7 separate regions of the Homo sapiens genome follow, and regions 1, 2, 3, 4, 6 and 7 are each linked to region 5. The links are contacts of gene promoters, found by promoter capture Hi-C in blood cells and fetal thymus (Javierre and others, 2016). All regions are on one chromosome and are shown on one strand. The core of a region is centred on a gene start or on the middle of the fragment in contact, and the rest is flanking DNA. Distances in the headings are between cores, read along the strand shown.

Region 1 (3,230 bases), core at 568-3,067, 660 kb before region 5:
ACATACAATACCAAAAGCATAATCCACAAAAGACAAAATTGTAAGTTGGACTTCATCAAAGTTGAAAGATTTTGTGCTTCAAAAGATGTCATTAAGAAGATTAAAATTTTAAAAAGAAAATTAAAATCTAAGCCACAGACTGGAAGAAAATACTTGCAAATCATATTTCTAATAAAGGACTTGTGTTAAGAATAGATAAAGAACAAGTACAACTCAATAATAATACAAGAAAATTTTAAAATAGTCAAAAGATTTATAGACTTAAAGTCAGCTAATTAGCAAGGTTAAAGAAAGAAAAGATTTATAGATATTTCAACAAAGATATGCAAATGTATAACAAGCACACAAAATATGCTCAACATCATCAATCATTATAGAAATTCTAATTAAAACCTCAATGAGATAGCACTTCATACCCATGAGTGTGACTATAATAAAAAAGAAAGGCAATAATAAATTGTGGCTAGGATGTGGAGAAACCAAAACTCTCCAACATTGCTGGTGAGAACGTAAAATGCAACAGCTACTTTGGAAAACAGTTTGAACTTTTCTTAAAAGCTTAACTGACATACATGTACCAAATAACTCAGCCATCCACTTTTGGGTATTTACTCAATAGAAAAGAAAGTATATATCCACACAAAGACTTATATAAACAAGTTCAAACAAGCGTTTGTTCATAAACGCTTGGATATTATTCATAATATCCAAAAAGTGGAAATAATCCCAATGTTTATCATTAGGTGAACAGATAAACAAAATGTGGTACATCCATACAATGGAATATTATTCAGCAATAAAAAGGAATGAGTACTGATACATGTTATTAATGTAACATGGATTAACCTCAAAAACATGCTAAATGAAAGAATCCAGATGAAAAGGCCACATATTTTATGATTCCATTTCTATGAAATGTCCAGAAAAGGAAAATCTATGAAGACAGAAGGCAGTGGCTGCCTGAAGCTGGTGGTGGAAATGGCAATGGACTGCAAATGGGTGTAAGGGATCCCTTTGGAGCATTGGGAATGCTCTAAATTGGATTGTGGTGATGCTTGCACAAATGTAAATTTTCCTTAAAAATAATTGAATTGTATAAAAGGGGTGAATTTTATGCTATGTAAATTATACCGCAATAAAGCTCTTAAAAAACTAAAGCAGTGTAAAATACTTTCGGTAAAACACAGCTTTGTTGTTTTGGTAGGATTGTTTTACTTCAACGATCAACATAAGATATTGTCGTATTATAGTAACATATCAAGAATATGTGTTGTTTCTAGTGTATACACAAACATCACCAAACTAGTTGTTGTCAATAGATTGATTTGCTCCAGTGCGTTTTTCTCACACTAATTTAACATTATAATGTGTTTATTTGAATATTTGATATAGACAGCATGGTTATAGTGATACCTATATAGAGTCATAATTGGTAATTAAATTGAAATACTTATTATTTTAATTTAATAAATATAACATTTTTATAGTTGAAAAATAAGTATGTACAAAATGTTTTAGTTTAAAACGAAGGCATGTTACTAACATAGAATCTAGTGGGAACACTTCTGATTGTGAACACTCCAACATGTAAAGAGATTATAAGTCGGTCACTCTCATTCTCAAAGCAAGAAGAAAGCTGAACTGAAAACCTACAACTTTTCTTAGTTCTATCAGAGAATTTTGGCTACAGGACAAACTATCACCCTGAAAACTGGAGAGACGGGTGAATACGGAGAATACAAGCCAGCTTACCTGAAGCAGGAGGTGCTGGAACCAGTAACTGACAGGAACACCTAAATGGTAACTTCGATGAATTGCCAGAGGCTGAGCGTGAATTAGCTTGAGAGTTAAAAACTCCTGGGACCCCAGTCTAAGGGGAGAACCCACACTTTCATGAGTTTTACCTCCCACCAGGTTCTCATGATGAAGAATGGAGAGAAATATCCTTATGTTTGGCAGGGCGAGGGTAAAGTGACCATTTAGAAATAAAACCAGAGCTTTCTCCACAACTAAGGCCTATCCAGCAGGGGGAAAGCCTTTGCCGATGTCTTCTTTTACTTGGGGAAAGGGAAATTATCTAGCTCCATCACATTCTGGACTTCCTGTCTCACATATGAGGTAAAAAACAAAACAAAACAAAAAAATACCCTAAGAAACAATTCATTCTGGACTTCTTATCTCACATATGAGGTACAAAACAAAACAAAACAAAAAAATACCCTAAGAAGCAATTATGAAGGTTACAGTCTAGAGTCACAGGTCCACTAAAATACTGAGCTCCAATCATGGGACTATAGAATGCTCTCCTACCCAGTATCTTGCTACCACATCAACAGGACTCCTGAATAGTAAAAGTGGATTATAGCTGACAGGGCTGCAAGGCTTAGATTCTATTTACGAAGGAGTTTCTAAGGAAACTCAAAGACAACAGAGGAGGCAAACACAAGGACTTTAGAAGAAATTAAAATCTTTGACACCTACTGCTGCAGCAAACTAAACACAGTCTAACTCCTGGTCAGATAAAAATAAAAATAAAACTTCACACACAGTCTACCTCAATTCCTATTACCATGTCTGCTTTCAGCAAAAAATTACAAGGCGTGCTAAAAGACAAGAAAAAATACAATCCAAAGAGACATAGCCAGCATCAGAACTAGACTCAGATGTGGCAGAGATTTTGGTATTATCTGTTTTAAAATGTACTGAAGATTTTGTTTCAATCAAGTATGGTAAAATGACAAACATGGAGACAACTGCCTTGAAAGAAGAGCTTATTACAGTTCTTAAGGGGAGGGGACAACTCATGCCACACAGGGCCAGATGGAGAAGCATCCGGTTCAGTCAGGAGGTAGACAGAGAGAGAAAAGCATGGACACAAGCCTTTATTGTGTTTCCCACAGGAAAGGAAGGCAGGGCAAGGTAAATAGCTTAGCTTTGACAAGTCTGGACAATTTCAGCAGGCTCTGTGTTACAGCAGTGATCTCTAGTTGTCTGGTCTCTGGCCCTGGGATTAATTAGGGCAGGGGAAGTACTGGCTTGGTGTGCAAGAGTTAGATAAAGGAGGTGGTTAGGGATACAAGCTTTGGATTGGTTGGTTTGCTGGATGCTCATGGGCAAGTTGTTTACTGCCTCTAGAAATTAGTTAGCTCTGGAAGAGGCAGTCTTTCCAGGATTAGCAGGCCCCTAAGATGTCAAAACCTCATAAAATACAGAAAATTAAAAAACATGAT
Region 2 (3,306 bases), core at 1-2,500, 950 kb before region 5:
TCTAAAAAAAAAAAAAAAAAAAGCATCTACCAAGCCTTCCTGACAGCTTGGTTCTTGTTTTACTGAATACCGTATGAGAGGATTGGATGCTTATCTGGTATGGCCTGCCATAAAATTCAAAAAAAGAAGAGAGGATTTGAGGGGCCTATAGAAGTGGATTAAAAAAAAAAAGTATTCAACAAACCGGAAAACAGAACCTCTGTACACAGACTCAAAGCAGCTGGGAGTGTCAGGTATAAGGAAAGGGAGAGAGGAAGTTTGTTATAGCTAATGCATGTACGTGTGCACCCTGCCGGGCAGAGGGATGGCAGCTCCACATGGCCTTCACAGCTAGGAGGAAAGGGACACTGCAGCGGGACAGGTGTGGAGCTGGTTTCCATTTCCCCTAAAGGAAATAAGGAAGACTACGCTTGGGAATAAGAAGGATTTAAGATTTTTCTGCTTATGAAGGTAGACAAATATTTGAACCCATATTTCAAGGACATTGAAAATTCCTGTCTTTAGAGGACAAGATTGGCTACTGTTAAGTTGGAGATAATTTCCTTGCAGTTCTGCTGAGAAGGCAGAGGCCAAACTTAGATAAGCTTTATTGAATCTTTGACTACAGGAATAGAGGAGGGGGGTCTTGTCATTTTTGTCATCAGCCAGTTTCTAAATTTCTCCTTGGCTTGGTCCTTGCAGTGTCTAGGTGAGGGGAAGGCTGTGGAGAGGACTGTGCAACATGTCATTCTGGAGCAGGGCTACAGGCAGGTGGCGTTCTTATCTCCTAGGAGAGTTTGGACCTTTCTGGTCCGAGGGGACGCCAAAAAGGCTACACTACTTTGGAGGGTCTTTGTGCAAGAGGTCAAACCCTTGGCAGATTTGGGGAATGCAAAGAAAGCCATGGGGTCTGGCTGCCTGGGAACTTCTTCAACCTGTGGCCTGGCTCCTCTCCTAGGGTGCAAACTGAACAGCCTCGGGGGTTCTTGATTTCTAGTAGAAGGGTAAGGGTGGCCTCTTGTCTGAGACACTTTAGCAGCATCAGCAGGAAAAAGGAAGCTGTCTGTGTGCAAAGAAACACCAAAACAGCAGTAGCTAGCACTTCTGTGGCCTTGCCTCCCACCCTCCCATTAGCTGATCTGATGGCAGAAACAGCACTCTTCCTGCATTCCCACGCCCTCGCTCTTCCCCGCTCCCCATCTCAACTCTGGATCCAGCTAGGATGCAAGGATAAAGTGGCCCCAGCATCTTGCCCACCCCCAGTGACTGATATGACTGGGGTGCTGGGTGTCTAACACTGTGCTGAGGGTGTCCCCTTCCTTCTCTCTTGCAGTCCTTGTGACCACGACCTCTTGAGGCAGCTAGGATTACACTCCCCATCTCACAGTAGGGTGGACGAGTGATTTTGCCCAGCACTCACCACTGCAGTTAGAAATGGTGGACTGGAGATGCAGGCGCAGGCAGCCTGGTTTTGGAGCCTGCATTCCTCTGCCTCCAGATCTGTGAGCAGGCCTGATCAAACACAAGGAATACACCCCCAAACAAATGTCTTGGCCCCATATTGCAAATGGCCTGGGTGGTGGAGGTCTGTCCCAGGGTTGACCAGCACTGCCAAAGAGGGCTCACTTGCCAAGGAGACCGCCTCTTGGGTCCCAGCTGCCTGCCCTGTAAGAGGCTACTGAGGTGGGTGAGTGATCTCTTCCTCCCCCATCCCGTAACAGGACAGAAGGAAAAGTGTCAGGACCTGGGAAAGCATATGGCCAGGATGATCACTGCCCTCAGCTAAGTGTATGTGTGTTAGAAGCTATGGGAAGGCAGGGACCCAGTGAACCCTAGAGGTGGAGCCCCTGAAACATATCTAAGTATTTACTTTAGAAATTAGTTTTTGATTAAAGATGTAAAATACCCCAATCCATTGAGATGACTAATATCAGAGATAAAGCTTTGAGACTTCCTAGAAATACGGCTCTGCAGAACTTCTCTAGGAAGCCTCTCTAACCTATTCCAGCCCACAGAGATCTTTTCCCCTTCTCTGAATTTTATTGTTATTGTTGTTTTTAATTTCTTTTTTTTTTTTAGAGACAGGATCTCACTATGTTGCCCAGGCTGGAGTGCAGTGGCTATTCATAGGTGTAATCATAGCTCACTGTGGCCCAGAACTCCCAGGGTCAATCGACCCTCCTACCTCAGCCTCCCAGGTAGCTGGAACTACAGGTGTACACCACCATGCCTAGCTCCCTTCTCTGAATTTTTACTGCAATTGAATCCTAACCACAGTATCTGTCTATATGGCTTTTCTCCTAGTTAGAAAACTCATCAAGGGCAGGGATCATGGACAAACCCTTCTCCAAGAGAGTTAAAAGAGTGTGACTTGACAAGTTGAGGTAGAAGTAGATGTGGACCTACTGCCAAGAAGCCAGAGTAATCTTCCTAGGAGCAGCTGGGAGTAGCCAGCACAGTGCAGTGCACTGGACAGACAAGAAATCAGGAGCCCTTGCACTCCACGTGGCCTGCCTCCCTGGGCAAGTCATTTGCCTGGCTCTCTGTTTCCTTATCTGTTCTGGGAAAATGTTAACACTGGCCCAGCTTACCTCATGGACTTGTCATTAGGCCCAAATCAGATAATATAGGTGAAAGTGCTTTGCGTAATGTCAAGAACCCTGCCAGTGAAAATCATAGTGCCTCCAAGGAGCTACTTAAGTTTCTTTCTTTTTTTTTTTTTAACACCAGACAATTGTATGCAGAATCCATTCATAAAAAACACACTTGTAGGAAATTGAAAGAAAAGTAATGGGGAAAAGAAAAGGAGGCAGGGTGAGGTGGGTCAGGCCTGTAATCCCAGCACTTTGGGAGGCCAAGGCGGGCGGATCACTTGAGGTCAGGAGTTCAAAACCAGCCTGGCCAACAGGGTGAAACCCCATCTCTACAAAAAATACAAAAATTAGCCGGGCATGGTGGCTCACGCCTGCAATCCCAGCAACTCGGGAGTCTGAGGTGGGAGAATCACTTGAATCTGGGAGATGGAGGTTGCAGTGAGTGGAGATCACGCCACTGCACTCCAGCCTGGGTGACAGAGTGAGACCCTGCCTCAAAAAAAAAAAAATGGAGAGAAGTTAGGAGAGTCAGAGACATGTAGACCTCCAGGGAGGATAAAAGAGGCTGTCCCTCAGACTGGGTGCAGTGGCTCACACCTGTAACCACAACACTTTGGGAGGCCGAGGCAGGAGGATCACTTGAGCCCAGGAGTTCAAGGCTGCAGTGAGCTATGATCATGCGGCTGCGCTCCAGCCTGAGTGACAGAGTGAAGACTCTGTTTCTAAAAATAAT
Region 3 (3,290 bases), core at 35-2,534, 790 kb before region 5:
CAAAATAAAAAAAGGAATAGCCGAATTACTGACCTAATGGCGCTTTTGTGTGCTCCTGATACAGCTTACGTGCAAATGAACTATCCATGCCTGCAGCCCTAGAGCTTTGGATTGGGGTCTGGGTAACCTTGTCTTTGGGGTCTCGCTATGTTGACCAAGCAATCTTCCCATCTTAGCCTCCCAAAGTATTGGGATTACAAGTGTGAACCACTGCACCCAGCTACCTTTTCTACCTCAAGGTGGGCCCAAGAAATGCAGAAGACAAAATACACTTAGCTAAGAGACAATCGGAAAGCTTGTTTTTCCAACCATGCAGTAACCATTTAATGTGTCCAGCTAACTTATATTAATTGGATCATTTATTTTTTTGAGATGGTCTTGCTTTGTCACCCAGGCTGGAGTGCAGTGGCTCACTGCAGCCTCAACCTCCCGGGCTCAAGTGATCCTCCCACCTCAGTGTCCTACATAGCTGTGACTATAGGTGCCTGCCTTCACACTTGGCTAATTTTTTGTAGAGACAGTTTTGCTGTGTTGCCCAGGCTGTCCCAAACTCCTGAGCTCAAGCAGTCCTCCTGGCTTGGCCTTCCTATAGGCGTGAGCCACAGCTCCTGGCCAGGATTAGTTTATTAGGACTTCACAACTGGCTTTCACTGTTTTCATATCTAAATTTTGTCTTGGGCATCCTAATTTCTCCATTTTTTATTCCAGTGTCAGATTGGTCTTAAAACTTGAACACTACATCACTAGCCAGGTTGAACCTTCAGACTTCATTACCTATAGAATTTCTTAGTATTTCAACCTTACTATTTTTTCATTTACTTCTCAGGATGTTTTGTTCACAATTGCCTCTGACCTGGATGCTCTTCAAAAATCATATGTTAAAGAAATGGCTCTGTGGCCGGGCGCAGTGGCTCACACCTGCAGTCTCAGCACTTTGGGAGGCAGAGGTGGGCGGATCACTTGAGGTCAGGAGTTTGAGACCAGCCTGGCCAACATGGTGAAATCCCGTCTCTACTAAAAATACAAAAATTAGCCAGGTGTGGTGGCATGCACCTGTAGTCCCAGCTACTCTGGAGGCTAAGGCAGGAGAATCGTTTGAACATAGGAGGTGGAGATTGAGGTGAGCTGAGACTCAGCCACTGCACTTCCAGCCTGGGTGACAGAGCGAGACTCTGTCTCAAAACAAACAAAACAAAAAACTCTGTTATATCTGAAGCCTTAACCCACCTCTCAAATTGCAGTATTTTCTAAAATCTCATGTCAGTGTTATCCACCACATATTTTAGGATTTGGTCATTTATTCTACTTTCTGTTATGGGTTAGGCATTTGAGGTCTATCTTTTCTCCTAACTAGATTCACCTAAAATAGTGCCGTGATCTCTGTGGCTTCTGCAGAGGCTGATTAGTGAGGGTCTGGATAGTGTTCAATATAAACTTTTTACTGGAAGAATGAAACAGCCTAAGTGACTTGTTGCTGTTAATGCTGTGATGGTCTCATCTGTCCACCAGGGGGCACTAAATGGCTGGCTCTAAAAGATCCCCATAAATTGTTGGGTATTGGAGGGTGAATCATGTTTTGACCCTTCTCTGGTTTAGTTTTCCATATTCAGTCAATTCTACCATATCTTGTCTGTTCTCTCTATTCCTACTTTCACTGCTTGAGTAACTCCCCATCATCATTGCAGGGGTCCTGGCAGATGTATTGGCTTCAAATTTTTTTTTGAAAAATAAAAATTCCTAAAAAAAGTACTTTAAAAGATAGGGTCTCGCTATGTTGGCCAAGTTGATCTTGAACTCTTGGCCTCAAGCAATCCTCCTGCCTCGGCCTCCCAAAGTGCTAGGTTTATAGGCGTAAGCTACCATGCTCAGCCTCCAAACTTCTTATTGCCAAAAAAAGCCCTCTATGATGCCACCAATAAGTACAAAGTCCAAACACAAGCATGGAACTACAACCTTTTTCAATCTGATCCTGATTACATTTCTCTTCCAGATCCTGCCCTACACCTGATGTACTATGCATTGTAGTTGTTATTTATTTTCATGTATCCCTCATGCTGTTCCCTCTAGCCTGCTATGCTCATTCCAACTCTTCTATGAAAATCACGCATATCCTTCCAAGTGTAAGCCAGGTACAACAGACATGAAGCCTTTCCTGATTTCCAAGTCAGAAGTAATCACTCCTGCAGTCAGGACAAACTGTTCCTATCCCTGTTTAATATTTACTTTGTGGTTTTATAATGAAACTAACTACATTTCTGTTTTCCCACTAGAATGCAAGCTTCTTCTTTTTTTTTTTTTTTTTTTTTTTTTTTTTTTTGAGACGGAGTCTCGCTCTGTCGCCCAGGCTGGCCTGCGGACTGCAGTGGCGGGATCTCGGCTCACTGCAAGCTCCGCTTCCCGGGTTCACGCCATTCTCCTGCCTCAGCCTCCCGAGTAGCTGGGACTACAGGCGCCCGCCACCGCGCCCGGCTAATTTTTTGTATTTTTAGTAGAGACGGGGTTTCACCTTGTTAGCCAGGATGGTCTCGATCTCCTGACCTCATGATCCACCCGCCTCGGCCTCCCAAAGTGCTGGGATTACAGGCGTGAGCCACCGCGCCCGGCCGAATGCAAGCTTCTTGAGGGCATCAATTGTGACTTTGTGTCTGCCTCACAGGGCCTGCCATTTAGTAGGTGCCCAAAAGTTGCTTATTCACCCTGGGCTTGCCTTTCCTGTCCTGGAGAAGGCGGTAACAACAATAGTGTTGCCTTTTACCTGGAGCTGGTAGTTTTCTTCCTCTTTTTTTTTTTTTTTCCTGAGACGGAGTTTCACTCTGTCGCCCAAGCTGGAGTGCAGTGGTGCCATCTCAGCTCACTGCAACCTCCACCTCCCAGGTTCAAGCAATTCTCCTGCCTCAGCCTCCTGAGTAGCTAGGATTACAGGCATGCGCCACATGCCTGGCTAATTTTTTGTATTTTTAGTAGAGACGGGGTTTCAACATGTTGGTCAGGCTGGTCTCGATCTCCTGATCTCGTGGTTAACCCACCTCGGCCTCCCAAAGTGCTGGGATTACAAGCGTGAGCCACCATGCCCGGCCTTTAGTTTTATTCTTATAAGAGTCAGACTATTTTACTTAAAAGAGACTAGGTTTAGAGGAAGAAGCATGGAAAGAAAGTTACTTTCCTCGGGCAAGCTTGGTTATTTTTGGTGGATGATTTCTGTCAGTCACTCCTGATCGGCTCTCTGTTAACTGAGGGATAGAAATGAGCCCAATCTCACTGGAGTTCCATGGGAAGAAAGAGACTGGGAG
Region 4 (3,368 bases), core at 48-2,547, 520 kb before region 5:
TTAATTGATGTATCGCATTTATCAATTTGGGTACATTGAGCCATCCTTGTATCCTTGAGATGAACCCCGCTTGATCATGGGAAATGATTTTTTAAGTGTGTTGTTGAATTCAGTTTGCTAGTATTTCACTGAGGACTTTTGCATCTATGTTCACCAGTGGTATTGGCCTGTAGTTTTCCTTTTTAGTTATGTCCTTGTTTGATTTTGATATCAGGGTAATACTAATCTCATAGAATGAGTTTGGAAGTATTCCCTTCTTGTCAATTGTTTTGAAGAGTTTTAGTAGAATTGGTAATAATTCTTTAAACATTTAGTAGAATTCAGCAGTGAAGCCATTGGATCTTGGGCTTTTCTTTGACAGGAAACTTTTTATTATGGCTTTCATCTCCAACTTGTTATTGGTTTGTCAATATTTTCTACTTCTTCATGGTTCAATCTTGGTAGATTCTAGATTCTATGTGTCCGAGAATTTATCCATTTCCTCTAGATTTGTCAATTTGTTGGTGTGTATTAATAGTTGTTCATAATAGTCTCTAATGATTCTTTGTAGTCTTTTTTTTTTGTTGTTTTGTTTTGAGACAGAGTCTCTCTCTGTAGCCCACACTAGTGTGCAGCGGTGCAATTATGGCTCACGGCAGCCTCAACCTCCCTGGCTCAAGCCATCCTCTTGCCTGAGCCTCCTGAGTAGTTGGGACTATAGGTCCATGCCACCACACATGGCTAATTTTTACATTTTTTGTAGTTATAGAGTCTTGCCATGTTGCCCAGGCTGGTCTCAAACTCCTGAGCTGTAGCAATCCTCCCACCTCAGCCTCCCAAAGTACTGGGATTATAGGCATGAGCCACTGCACCTGGCTAATTCTTTGTAGTCCTAGGGTCTCAGTTGTTATGTATCCTTTTTTATTTCTGATTTTATTTGTTTGGGTCTTACTTCTTTTTTTCTTAGTCTAGCTAAAGGTTTGTTGATTTTATTTATTTTTTCAAAAAATCAACTTTTAACTTTGTCAATCTTCTATATTGTTTTTTAGTCTCAATTCTTTTATTTCCACTCTGATTTTCTTTCTTTCTTTCTTTCTTTTTGAGACAGAGTCTTGCTCTGTCACTCAGGCTGGAGTGCAGTGGTGGCGTGATCTCAGCTCACTGCAACCTCCGCCTCCTGGGTTCAAGCAATTCTCCTGCCTCAGCCTCCCTAACAGCCGGAACTACAGGAACGTGCCACCACACCCGGCTAATTTTTGTATTTTTAGTAGAGATGGGGTTTTACCATATTGGCCAGGCTGGTCTTGAACTCCTGACCTCGTGATCCACCTGCCTTGGCCTCCCAAAGTGCTGGGATTACAGGCGTGAGCCACCACGCCCGGCTCACTCTGATCTTTACTATTTCTTTCCTTCTATTAATTTTGGGTTTGATTTGTTCCTGCTTTTCTAGTTCCTTGAAGTGTATCATTATGTTATTTATTTCAAGTCTTTATATATATATATATATATATATTTTTTTTTTTTTTGAGACAGGGTCTTGCTCTGTCACCCAGGCTGGAGTGAAGTGGCATGGCCATAGCTCACTGCAGCCTCAGATTTCTGGACTCAAGAAATCCTCCTGTCTCAGCCTCCTAAGAACTATAGGTGCGCACCACCATACCCAACTAATTTTTTTAGTTTTTGTAGAGATGTGGTCTTGCTATGTTGCCCAGGCTGGTCTCAAACTCCTGGCCTCAGGTGATCCTCCTGCCTCAGCCTCTCGAAGTGCTGAGATTAGGGGTATGAGTCATCATCCCTGGCCAAGTCTTTCTACTTTTTGATATTGGTGTTTTTTGCTATAAAATTCCCTCTTAGCACTGCATTTGCTGTGTCCCATAGATTTTGGTATATTGTATTTCCATTTGCATTTGTTTCAAGAATTTTTAAATGTCTTTCTTAATTTCTTCACTGACCATTGACTGTTTAGGAGCATGTTTAATTTCTTTGTGTTTGTGTATTTTCTGAGGTTCCTCTTGTTATTGATTTCTAGTTTTATTCCATTGTGGTCAGAAAGGATATTTGATACGATTTCTACTGTTTTGAGTTTGTTAAGACTTGTTTTGTGACATAAGGTATGGTCTATCTTGGAGAATGTTTCATGTACTGGTCAAAATAATGTGTATTCTGCAGCAGTTGGGTAAAATGTTCTTTAAAAAATATTTTGTAGAGATAGGGTCTTGCTGTGTTGCTCACGCTAGTCTTGAACTCCTGCGCTCAAGTGAACCTCCTGCTTCAGCTTCCCAAAGTGTTGGTATTACAGATGTGAGCCACTGCACCTGGCCAAAATGTTCTTTAAATGTCAGTTAGGTCTATTTGATCTAGTGTATAGTTTAATTCTGATATTTCTTTGTTCATTTCCTGTCTGGATGATCTGTCCCTTACTGAGAATGAGATGTTGAAGTCCCCTACTATTTTTGTATTGAAGTCTATCTGTCCTTTCAGATCTATTAATGTTTGCTTTATATACCTGGGGGAGCTCCACTGGTGGGTGCATAGATATTTATCATTTTTTTTTTTTGAGGCGGAGTTTCACACTTGTTGCCCAGGCTGGAGTGCAATGGCGTGACCTTGGCTCACTGCAACCTCTGCCTCCTGGATTCAAGTGATTCTCCTGCCTCAGCCCCACGAGTAGCTGGGATTACAGGCATACGCCACCACATCCAACTAATTTTGTATTTTTAGTAGAGACGGAGTTTCACCATGTTGGCCAGGCTGGTCTCGAACTCCTGACCTCAAGTTATCTGCCCACCTCGGCCTCCCAAAGTGCTGAGATTACAGGCGTGAGCTACTGCATTCGACCTGATATTTATAATTGTTATATTCTCTTGCTGAACTGACCCCTTTATCACTATATAGTGACCCTCTTTATCTTTTTAAACAGTCTTTGATTTGTAGTCTCTTTTATCTGATATGATTGTAGCTACTCCTGCCCTTTTTTGGTTTCCAGTTGCATGGAATATTCTTTTCCACACTTTCACTTTCAGTCTATGGCTTTATTGGTGAAGTGGGTTTCTTGTGGAAGCATATAGTTGGATCTTTTTCTTTATCCATTCAGCCACTGTATGCCTTTTAATTGGATAACTGAGTCCATTTACATTCAGCTTTATTATTAAGTAAGGACTTACCACTACCATTTTGTTGCTTGCTTTCTGTTTGTTTTATAACTCCTCTCTTCTTGCTTTCTTACTGTCTTCCGTTGTGGTTAAGTGATTTTTCTCTTGTAGTATTTTTTTTTTTTTTGAGACAGAGTCTCGCTCTGTTGCCCAGGCTGGAGTGCAGTGGTGTGATCTTGGCTCACTGCAACCTCCATCTCCTGGGTTCAAGCAATCCTCCCACCTCAGCCTCCTGAG
Region 5 (3,507 bases), core at 121-2,620:
TGGGAGAACGCAGGTAAAATCAATCAATAAATAAAGATCCCGATTTTCCAGGCTGGATAACCCAGAAACCACGGAATCCTAAAGTCTCAATAAACGTTAAAGCACAGATAGTAAGTAATCTGGCAATAGAGGATGGGCGCCCAGCAGACCGCCTACATAATCAGTGGAGCCGAGTGCAAGATGAAAATACCAGGCACTTGCTTTAAAATTACTAATAATTTCAAGACCGTTAACACTAGAACATTAAACCAAACATTCAGGACCCTTCTAAGCGCAGAGGCCATCAAAGCTAGCCCTGGTGACAAGCTCAGGTCTCCGGATCTAGAGACTAGGAGACGTCGCCCGAAAGCTGGCCAAACCCTCGCCCTCACTGGGAGAGGCCCCAGGAGGGCCCAAGAAGGCCACGAGCCCTCGCTCCCATCCCTGCCCTCAGGAGCGGGCGGAGGGAAGCTCGCAGCTTTCCCAAGGAAGTGCAGGCTGCAGGGAATGAAGTTCAGCTCGGACCCTGAGCCTCTGAGCCCGAGACAGCAAGGTCATTCAACCCACACGTCCCCACCCAGCCAGGGCGAGGATCAGAGATGTGGCAACTCCCGGCCTTGGACTCAGGCTTGTTACTCATAAACCCGCAGGAGGGGGCAGGAGGGGGCAGGAGGCGGCGAGCGCGCACCCTGGACCCGCGGCCGGGGGCGGAGAGGCACCGCGAGGACAGAGGGACTAGCGAAGGTCTGCAAATCCCGGAGGGCCAAGGGAGCGTCAAAGGGGACAGCGGAACCGGAAAAGCTTTGACAGAAAGACGCGTGTATTAGGGAACGTCTGCAAAGACCGCGGCGGAAAGCCAGGGATTGTCTTAAAAAATTGTCAGACCGGATAAAGGGAGGTCTAAAAGGGGACCGTCCCAAGAGCAAGGCTTCCAAAAGCTAAGCCCGGAAGGACGGTATGGAGGTCTACTGGGACGCTGGGCACCCCTTAGGGCAGAACCGACTGGAGCTGCGGCCAGCGACAGAAGAACGGCTCCAGCTGGACAGGGGAAGCAGTGGGGAGAAAGGAGGCCCTTGGGCACTGTCTGAAAAGTGCGATGCCAAATGATCTTTAGGGACAGACAGTAAATTATATCCCTTGCTAAAATACCTCTCGGTAGCGAACCACCAAACGTTTCTTTTTTAAGCCCCGCCTCTCAGCCGTTACGCCTAGTTCGGCTGTCTCTGATTCAGGAAGCTGGCAGTTCCCACTTACTCCTCCCCAGCAAGAGCTAACAGCCCTCCTTGGGTGTGCACTTTCTCCTCCCCTCAGGCACCTCGCGCATTCTCCCGCCTACCTATCAATCATCGTGCTCCGCTGTCCAGTTGGCTGGCCAAGGGGGCGGGGCCGTCGTGTGACGTTTGCAGCCCGCCGGCCAGGAAGCCGCGAGATGCGTGACGAGCGAAGCGCGTGACGGAGGAGCGGTTGGCCAACGCAGTGGCGGCAGTCGGTGTAAACAAGGCCTCGCGCCGCTGCGGGTCCTGCGACCGCTCCTGGCTGGTGGGTGGTCTCGCGTGGGGCGGTTACCGCCGGCTTCAGTGGGAGGTGCTTCTCGGCTTCCTCCCCCTCATGGCGTACACACCCCCGGCGCACCACGTGGGCGTGAGGCGAGGAAGGAGGGGTGTTAGGCCAAATTCTATTTTCATTGGCTGTCACTGCTGCCGGCCTTTGTAAGGGGGCGCTCTGATTGGTCGATAAGGTGGGGGCGTCGAGGGTCTTTGAGTCCTAAGGCTTCTAATTGGTTAGATGAGATAAGCTAGTGAAGCGCTTTCTTCCGAGAGGGATTTCGATTGGTCGGTCAGAGAGGTTACCTGGAAATCCAACACCGCCCAACACCCCTCCCGCTCCCCAGTCCGGGGACTTCGATAGGTGAGTTTGGTGTAGAAAACAAATCTTTCTTCAGTTGGTGAGCTAGGGTAGCGCACTACGGTTCACTCTTGCTTTCTTTGCTTCACAGGATTGGAGAAGGTTTGTGTTCCCGACGCCTTGGTAGTTGGCATAGGCTAAAGAAAAGGGATCTCAGCCCCGAGGAAGGGTCACCCTCCTAGAGATAGCTACTACCCCGTCTCAGGAGACCCTGGTATTTCTAGAGCACGCTTTGCTTTCACCAAACCCAAGGAGGTGACAGGAGGAGCCCCCGCACAGGACCTAAGAATGCTGTGACCAGAAGATGGGATCGCGGAACAGCAGCAGTGCAGGATCCGGGTCCGGAGACCCCTCCGAGGGCTTGCCCCGAAGAGGGGCTGGCCTGCGTCGGAGTGAGGAAGAGGAAGAAGAGGATGAAGATGTGGATCTGGCCCAGGTACTGGCCTATCTCCTCCGCAGGTAACTTACCCTCTGGTGTGACCCCCAGCAGGTGCTACCACAGTGCCTTGATCCCAACTCCAGGCAGGAAAATTACAGAGGTTAGGAAATGGGATTCGCTCAGGACAGCTGTTCTGTTTGAGCTGAACAGCCTTTCCCTGCTGGGCACCCATGGCACTCAGCTCCATACCCAGTAAGAGTGGTTCTTACCTAGGGAGGGTCACCAAGAGGACCTGCTCATGTGTTTGAGGGGCTATTCAAGGGAGCCTGTCTCTGTGACTACACAAATATAGTCTATTTTCCAAGTAAGCTTGAAAAAAAAAAGGGGGGGGTCCTAGTGGGAAAGGAGTGATGTAAGGGGTGAAGAGATGGGAAGGGAGTGTTGAACTTTTTAGTAAGGCAGTTGACACATGATATGAGGCCACTTCGATTTACTTGAAAAACAAGTTTAATTTGCCCTGACTCTAACCTGTTCTTGAGGAAAGAATGCCTTGAAGGGAGAGACCACCTGGAATTGACTGGAAAAGGGTGCAGCTGGCTTTCTTTCTTTGCTTATGGCTCTTTGAGGAGAAGATGGGTTTGGGGGTCCCTTCAGAATATTGTATTCTTTTTTGTTTGTGTTTTGTGTTGTTTTTAGTAGACATAGACAGGGCTCACTGTGTTCCCCAGTCTGGAGAACGGGCTATTCACAGGTGTGATCAAGTGCACACCACAGCCTGCAACTCCTGGGCTCAAGCAATCCTTGCCTCCCAGGTAGCTAAGACTACAGTTGCACACACCACCGCACCCAGCTTAGAATATTGTCTTCTGTGGTGGACTTCTCAGGCAGAGGCTCAGAAGGAAATGCTGTGAGGATGTTTAGCTTGTTGGGAGGTCAACTTAGTAGGTCATGTCCACAGCGTATTGGTCTTGCTCTTGTTCTAAGGAAATGATGTTAGAATGTTTAGCTCGCTGGGAGGTCAACTTAGTAGGTCACGTCCACAGCATGTTGGTCTTGCTCTTGCTGTAAGAGTAAAACTCTCTTTCCTACTGTGTTTTATAGGAGACCAAAAATAACAGCCAAGGTCTAGTCAGCCTCAAACCTCAAAATGAGTACCAAGTGGTCTAAGAGCTAGATAGCCATTGACTCTGAATTTGGTTGGTTTGGGGGAAGAAGTCCCCTCCTTTATAATGGGGGTCTCTCCA
Region 6 (3,482 bases), core at 674-3,173, 630 kb before region 5:
GCTGTCATTAATGCACACATGAGCACCTTACCTGTTTGGTTTTATCATGTGATGGTTTTGTCATGTGATAGCTTTATTCTGTAGAAGTAATTTACATCTCTGCCTCATTCTTTTCATCTTAGGGGACAGGGAAGAGAGTTTGACCAAGGTCTGTCTTTGCCTTAAAATCATTGTTTTGTTAGGATTTTATGAAGGCTTGGGGAAATGTCTATTGGGAATTCACAACAGTCTTCATAGATACCTTATTAGGAAAACTGTGTTTTGTTTGCAGGGGAGATTATTAGTGTGTCAATTTTCAGCACCATGGAGAGTTCAAACGCTCCTCATTCCTTGGTTTGGTGAATGGGACACAGCTAAACCATAGAGCTGCGTGGTGTAGACCTGCCCTTTTTCAGAGCCCAGTTTGTCCAGTCTCCAGTTCTGATTGGTACAGATTGGATGAGAGTCAAACACACCCCTGAGTGTCCCCCATCCTCCCTGGAATCTTTTAGGTCCATAAATCCCAGATTCATGCCAAGGATTTGGCTAACTTGATGGAGGTATGTGAGTGGAATCCTGCCTCCTGCTCCATTGGTAACATCATTTATCATTTATATTATGATACATGAAATTTTTACCAGCCCTTAAGAAAAACTCTGTTCCCTACTCATCTTTGCTTAGAGAACCTTGAGGGGACTTAAAGTTGCTTTTTCATTCCTTGGGCCTCGTTTTCTGCCTCTGCATGAGGAAAGGCATCAATGCTCTGGCTCTCTGCCCAGTCTTGCTTTTGTGTTTCTTTGATCTCATTGTTCAGAGGGTCTCAGAGAAGCCCCCAGAGCCATGCCTTTGCATGTTTAAGCTATTGATGCTTTTGAGATGACAGAGCGTCGCTGTGTAAGAAGTGTATTAAAGGTCTATCGTGAACAAACTTGGGTCAATAGGTGGCAGTAGTCACTGAGTCCTGAGGCCCTGACACCCCCTAAACACAAACACATTTGATGGCCATTATATTTAAGGAAGGATGTGAGAAAGGAGGTCACATTGAGATTAAAACGGGGAGAAAAGCAATCCTTTTTGGTGGAATCCAGGAAATGCTGAAATGTGCTGGATTACATCTGTGGGAGTGTTGTGTGGGGTGTAGGGGAAGATTGCTGTCAGCTAGTGAAGGGCACTGATTGGAAACAGCAGAGCCTCAGGATTGGGGGAACAGATTCATTCATCTAAGATGTAGGTGCTAAGGTTTCTTCCAGCTAGAGTAAGCATGTGTTAAATGAGGACCAGCACTGAAAGGACAGAGTGGGGTTGGAGTGAGTAGAGATACAAGTAGGGGAAGGAGGGGCAGAACTGTGTGACGGGACCGTGGAAAGGGTGGGCTGTGAAGGGGAGGACTGCGGTTAGAGGGGGAGGGGGAGGCTGCTGCAATACTGAGCCTATCTAATGGGGGAGGGGAGGGGGAGATATTGGTGTGTGCTGCAGCTGCATTACTTCCCCTCCCCCACACTTCCCAAGAAGCCAGAGCAGTGCTGGCAAATCTGTCTTCATGTATTTATTATTATTAAAAATGTGACAGATCCTTCCTCCCTGGAAGCACAACAAATACTACTGATCACATTTCTCTCTCCCCTCCCTCTGCAGAGCTTTTGCATTCTCTCTTTCATTCCACCCTGTCCTCCCCCACTTGGTCTGTTTGGTGGGGGGAACCCTTCCCTTCTTTCCTTCTTAGACCTTGGTGGCTCCCTGGGGGTTTCTAATGGTGGTTGGGAGTTTTGAGGCAGTGCTGGGAGGAAGCAGCTGAGTGAGGGGCATTCATGGCCCCAGGGAGGCAGCTGTATTCTCTTATATCCAGTGGGGAGAGGAAATCACTTGGAAATAAAGATAAAAATCCTTTCTCCAGGTAATGAAATAAGCAGGTGCTCACATTCCTTTCAGTACCTGGTGTTCCTCCCTCTTCATATTCTTCTCTTTTCTACTGCCTGAATTCTGAAGGGGAAACCCCCTTGTAATGGAAAAAGCCAGGAGTTCTCTGTCTTCCCTCCCTTACCTTAAGTCCCTCTCTTCCCAGGAAAGCCATATACTATTTATTCTTCTAGCCTGCATGTTGTGTAACCAAGAGATTTGAATGGCAAAAGCCATGGCTTCTTCCTCCCCACCTGCACCCCAGACTCCCATGCCTAGGCGGGAACCTCTTTTGTTGCAGCCTGTAGCCCTTCACCATACCCATAGGTGGTGCTGCTGTTGCTCTGCAGGCAGGGCCCTCCCGGCCAACATCATTCCTCCCCACCCTGTCGCCCTCCCCCTTTCCCCAGCCCTCTACTGCCTGATTGTTATTCCACCAACGTCTCCTCTACTGTTCCCTTCCTCAAATTAATTTTGTGGCGCTCTTTTTTCCGCAGTGCCATCTTCTTCCCCTCCCCCAGCTCCGGCTCTCTTGCTTTCTGTCTCTCTCTTTCTCTGTCTGCAGGATCTCCATCTCACTTCCCTACCTGAAATCTACACTCTTCCCTACTCCCTTTTTCGTTATCTGTTCTACCCCTGACATCTTACAGATGACTCTCCCAATGAAAGGGGGCTGTAGATGAGGGTGGCTTAGAAGAGAACAGGGTGAGGAGAACTGAGGGGTCAGTACCGAAGAGTAGGTGGGAGAATGACGAGGCTCTACAGGGGAAACATGATGGGAGACAGAAGATATCCTTTGCTGTCTGCATCTATTCAGTTCCTGGATTTGGATAAGGAGAGTTCACTTGGCAAGCGATCGATCCTGTGTTATCTGAATCTACAGATTTGGGTTCTACATGCTGGGAAAATGGGAGCTAGGGAATAGCAAGAATTCAGATAATAATGGCTCATCCAGAAACTTTTGGATTAGATTGCTAAGGATACCTCTACTTTCGTTATCCTGTGTTTTGAAGACTGGAGGAGATGTCCTGTTACTGATCTTTTGTGTCCTCAGAAGGTTCTTTCCAGGACAGTTGTGACACTTATGTGATGGACATCCTGGCTCTCTGGTCACTGCTGAGCACAATTCTGGCTGCAGGACCTTGGCTCACTCTTGTAGTCTGCCTCCTTTTTTTGTCATTCCATGTTGTTCCTTTATCACAGCTGAATTTACCTGGTTGCCCCATTCAGCCCACAGTGCCCTGTATTGCTTAGCCTTTCCAGAATATGCCCAAACTCTTTAGACTGTTAGCTCTTGCCTCATCTCGCTTCTTAACTTTATTTTGGAGACCTTTCATTGTGAGACCAGTACCCCACAACCAGCTAATTCAGCAGTGTTTTTTATTGTAAAGTTATCCAATTTCTAGGATGGCTAATTTTTCTCTTATTGGATTATTCTTTATGAATTAGTAGCATCCAGTTACTCCCTGGATGGTAGTGCTGAGTCTGACTTCTGTATATACTAGGAATAGGCCACAATATGGACCTCTTTCCTTGATTCCCTGGTGGGAGGAGATCTTCCTTAGCTTAAGTGGCAGTCCTAGAATGGCTGGCTTCCATTTCCTCAG
Region 7 (3,309 bases), core at 174-2,673, 810 kb before region 5:
AAAATACACATGTAAAAAAAGCACAGCATCTAATAACTCCTCAAAATATGTTAGTTTTTACCTTTTTTTTTTTTTGAGATAGAGTCTCGTTCTATCACCCAGTCTGGAGTGCAGTGGCATGATCTCAGCCTCCTGGGTTCAAGTGATTCTCATGCCTCAGCCTCCTGAGCAGCTGGGATTACAGGCTGGCTAATTTTTGTATTTTACGTCTGGCTAATTTTTGTATTTTTAGTAGAGATGGGGTTTTGCCATGTTGGTCAGGCTGGTCTCGAACTCCTGGCCTCAAGTGATCCACCCGCCTTGGCCTCCCAAAGTGTTGGGATTACAGGTATGAGCCACCGAACCCAGCTAGTTGTTACTGTTATTGCTGCAGAAAAGACCTTGCTTCTCCAGTGACCATAAGGGAAGATGGTAATACAGAGGCTTGGATTGGAGGTAGAAGCAAAGGGAGCTAGCAGAATAGGAGAATTAGGTTGCCTCTTTCTGGCCTTTGGTTGGGGCACTCTTTAAAAAAGTGCCAGATCCAAGAGCCCAGGGGGCTGGCTGTGAGTGCCCTCATGTGGATCAGCTATGGTCAGACTGCTTCACGCCTGTGACCTGCCCTGTATAAATATACTGCCATGTATAAATAATGGCCCCATATATATGTAATCTGGAAGGATAAACATCAAGCTTAACACTGGCAACCTGCAGGGAGGGAAGTGGAATTGGGTGTGTATGTGTGTGTGTGTTTGAGAACCTGTATTTTATTACTCCGCACGTCTTTATTGTTTGATTTTTTTCATAATGAGAATGAGTTTGTGTGTTGGGTAAAAAAAAGAAAAAGAAAAAAACCCCACTAAAATCAATCTAATTACAAAAGAAGATGAATTAAAGAAAAGTACCGAGAGAAACTGCTTGTGATCCAAGTCCTGGCTCCCTAATGCCTGGCTGAAGCCCAGCCCACAAAGAGAACACTGGGTTAAAGGTCCTGGAGAAAAGATGGGAAAGGTTTGGTGTCTATGTGGTGTCTGCTAGCCCCATAAGGGTAAGGCACCTGGTAGACGGTTCCCAGCTTAATGGGAACTGCTCCTGTTTTCCAGGCACACAGTTCAGGGCTGGAAAAGTTCAACAAGTGCATGGAACATCGGAAACCTCCTGAAAATGCTAAATTTGCCCCGAGATGTCCCGAAGTCCGGCATATTTCTCTGGGCAGCCTAGAGGCTCAGGAGCCCAGCCCAGCCCAGCCCACCGTGCCCTCTCAGCCAGCCCTTCTTTGCCTTCAGCAGCCCTCCCTCTTCCTGAGTAGTGGCCCTTTGCAGGCCTGCGTCCCAGCCCCGCCCCTCTCTCTGGACGCATCTCTGGGCCCCATCATCACCCGGCGCCGGGCCCTCCCTCTGCCCCCCCCTTTCTCCTCCCTCCTTCCTTCCCTCCCTTCCTCCCTCTCTCCCTCCCTCCCAGCTCCTGCACCAGGAAACGGCCCGGATCCCGGCAGCGGCCTGACCCGTGAGATCCCTAACCTGGCAGGCGGGCGGGGTTGGAGACTGGCTGAGGTGGGGGTAAGGGAGGAGCTGGGCCTTTGGGCTGCACTAGGGGGAACCGGGAATAGAGATGGTGTCGGCAGGAAGCCCTTGGCCTTGGGTTTCCCGGGAGGACAGTCATTAAACATGGATTCGGCCACACAGCTGGTAGAGCGTTGGGGGCAGGGGCCTAGGCCCAGAGCTGCAACCCTAGCCCTTCCCAGGCCAGAACCTGATCCCTGGCCTTCCCCTCCTGGTTCTGATCTCCCCCTCCCCTTTCCAGGGCTCCACGCTGGCCAGGAGGATGAAAGGCCCCAGCTGGGGGCTCCTTGCCACCAGTGCTGTGTCTTAAGAGCTGCCATCCCGGCTGGGTGAGTGTCTCCTTCCTTTCTCTGTCTGGAGTAACCCATTGCGTCTCCCACCTTTCTCTTCAGCCCATCTGCTCCCCCTCATCTTGTGTCTCTGCCAACATCTTTACATCTTGCATTTGGGGAGGTCCTAAGACCCTTCCTCTAGCCAAGAAGGTGTGGACTAAGGAGACCCGGGGGTGGGGGTGTTGTAGGGGTGTCATTGAGCTGACGTTGTCTTATTGTGAAAAGAATCTAAAGTATCCTAAACAGAAAATTTACTTGTTTTACATTTAATTTGGCATATTAGGAATGTAATGGCCAGCCACTCACAGCCTAGTCTCATATCATGACTTAATTCCCTTGTTCTTGCCTCTCCCTGTCCAGTGAGTCCTGAGCATTTCCTCTCTCCTCCTCATCTCACTGGGTTGGTCAAACCAGAAGTGCTCCTTCTGATTCTCTCTTCATATATTCATGCCAGTCTTTCATCCTTGCCTCTTATAGCCGCCCGGATGGCGACCCCAGCCTCGGCCCCAGACACACGGGCTCTGGTGGCAGACTTTGTAGGTTATAAGCTGAGGCAGAAGGGTTATGTCTGTGGAGCTGGCCCCGGGGAGGGCCCAGCAGCTGACCCGCTGCACCAAGCCATGCGGGCAGCTGGAGATGAGTTCGAGACCCGCTTCCGGCGCACCTTCTCTGATCTGGCGGCTCAGCTGCATGTGACCCCAGGCTCAGCCCAACAACGCTTCACCCAGGTCTCCGATGAACTTTTTCAAGGGGGCCCCAACTGGGGCCGCCTTGTAGCCTTCTTTGTCTTTGGGGCTGCACTGTGTGCTGAGAGTGTCAACAAGGAGATGGAACCACTGGTGGGACAAGTGCAGGAGTGGATGGTGGCCTACCTGGAGACGCAGCTGGCTGACTGGATCCACAGCAGTGGGGGCTGGGTAAGAAGCTTCTCAATTGCCGCTCTGCACATCCTTCTGCAAAGCTGGTCTCCAGGGGGAAGATGGGGGCTCTGATTGGAGGCTGAGGCAGCTATGTTGGGAATGAGGTACGGGGCTGAGTCTCCCCGTCTGGATGGAATTAGATTGAGAGATGCCTGGACTCTGCACTCCAGGGCTGCCATGCAGTCAACACTGGATGGGCTCATGGTCCCAAGCAGAGGACAGAATACACACCCAAGGAGTGCCTGCAGGGGAATGTTGTCAGGGACTTTTTACATCTGAGTCATGGCGTGGGAGGTGGGGAGGACCAGGGATGGGTGGTGGTCAGGCAAGCCTTGGCAAAGGATGCTAGTTCTGAGCAGAATTTTTCGCCAAGGAAAGGATGGAATTCACTGGAGGCAGAGTGGGCAGATGAACCAGTCTCTCAGGGTGGGGGTGCACCTGGGGGGATCAGAGGGGCTTGCAGGGAGAAGAGCTTTGGCCAGAGAGGAGCTGGGTATGGGGTAGTGCTCGCAGTGG

Evidence for each region. Contacts are between HindIII fragments. The CHiCAGO score rates a contact against its expected background, and 5 or more counts as called.
Region 1: a fragment that was not itself captured here is called in contact with the fragment with the promoter of DCAF11 in region 5 in 2 of 17 cell types (megakaryocytes and erythroblasts); the score reaches 6.5 in megakaryocytes.
Region 2: a contact is called between a fragment that was not itself captured here and the fragment with the promoter of DCAF11 in region 5, in 1 of 17 cell types (M0 macrophages). The highest score is 5.6, in M0 macrophages.
Region 3: a contact is called between a fragment that was not itself captured here and the fragment with the promoter of DCAF11 in region 5, in 3 of 17 cell types (monocytes, non-activated CD4 T cells and naive CD8 T cells). The highest score is 5.4, in monocytes.
Region 4: a fragment that was not itself captured here is called in contact with the fragment with the promoter of DCAF11 in region 5 in 1 of 17 cell types (total CD4 T cells); the score reaches 5.3 in total CD4 T cells.
Region 6: a fragment that was not itself captured here is called in contact with the fragment with the promoter of DCAF11 in region 5 in 1 of 17 cell types (megakaryocytes); the score reaches 5.6 in megakaryocytes.
Region 7: a contact is called between the fragment with the promoter of BCL2L2 here and the fragment with the promoter of DCAF11 in region 5, in 1 of 17 cell types (M2 macrophages). The highest score is 5.8, in M2 macrophages.

The regions. Positions count from the first base shown.
Region 1 is chr14:23,451,641-23,454,870 of GRCh38, forward strand. No RefSeq gene overlaps it. Among named protein-coding and RNA genes, the nearest start is that of NGDN, 16 kb to the right of the region's middle. The HindIII fragment of the contact is 2,522 bases long and covers 557-3,078 here.
Region 2 is chr14:23,161,923-23,165,228 of GRCh38, forward strand. The region is part of intron 3 of SLC7A8 (solute carrier family 7 member 8); the gene reads right to left. Among named protein-coding and RNA genes, the nearest start is that of SLC7A8, 20 kb to the right of the region's middle. The HindIII fragment of the contact is 1,337 bases long and covers 583-1,919 here.
Region 3 is chr14:23,326,706-23,329,995 of GRCh38, forward strand. No RefSeq gene overlaps it. Among named protein-coding and RNA genes, the nearest start is that of PABPN1, 6.9 kb to the left of the region's middle. RefSeq lists a silencer at 1,488-1,577. The HindIII fragment of the contact is 1,983 bases long and covers 294-2,276 here.
Region 4 is chr14:23,595,008-23,598,375 of GRCh38, forward strand. No RefSeq gene overlaps it. Among named protein-coding and RNA genes, the nearest start is that of JPH4, 18 kb to the left of the region's middle. The HindIII fragment of the contact is 6,973 bases long and covers 1-3,368 here.
Region 5 is chr14:24,113,407-24,116,913 of GRCh38, forward strand. DCAF11 (DDB1 and CUL4 associated factor 11) reads left to right here and starts at 1,371. Exons shown (of 15, transcript NM_025230.5): 1 at 1,371-1,887; 2 at 1,976-2,343. The coding sequence starts at 2,189. NRL (neural retina leucine zipper) reads right to left here and starts at 1,543. Exons shown (of 3, transcript NM_001354768.3): 1 at 1,316-1,543. RefSeq lists enhancers at 624-1,339, 921-1,060, 1,301-1,450. The HindIII fragment of the contact is 1,852 bases long and covers 779-2,630 here.
Region 6 is chr14:23,481,243-23,484,724 of GRCh38, forward strand. No RefSeq gene overlaps it. Among named protein-coding and RNA genes, the nearest start is that of NGDN, 13 kb to the left of the region's middle. RefSeq lists enhancers at 829-1,586, 1,587-2,343. The HindIII fragment of the contact is 5,436 bases long and covers 1-3,482 here.
Region 7 is chr14:23,305,410-23,308,718 of GRCh38, forward strand. BCL2L2 (BCL2 like 2) reads left to right here and starts at 1,424. Exons shown (of 4, transcript NM_004050.5): 1 at 1,424-1,485; 2 at 1,783-1,870; 3 at 2,351-2,790. The coding sequence starts at 2,359. It overlaps BCL2L2-PABPN1 (BCL2L2-PABPN1 readthrough), which reads left to right and starts at 1,424. Exons shown (of 8, transcript NM_001387346.1): 1 at 1,424-1,485; 2 at 1,783-1,870; 3 at 2,351-2,790. The coding sequence starts at 2,359. RefSeq lists an enhancer at 2,283-3,116. The HindIII fragment of the contact is 2,126 bases long and covers 671-2,796 here.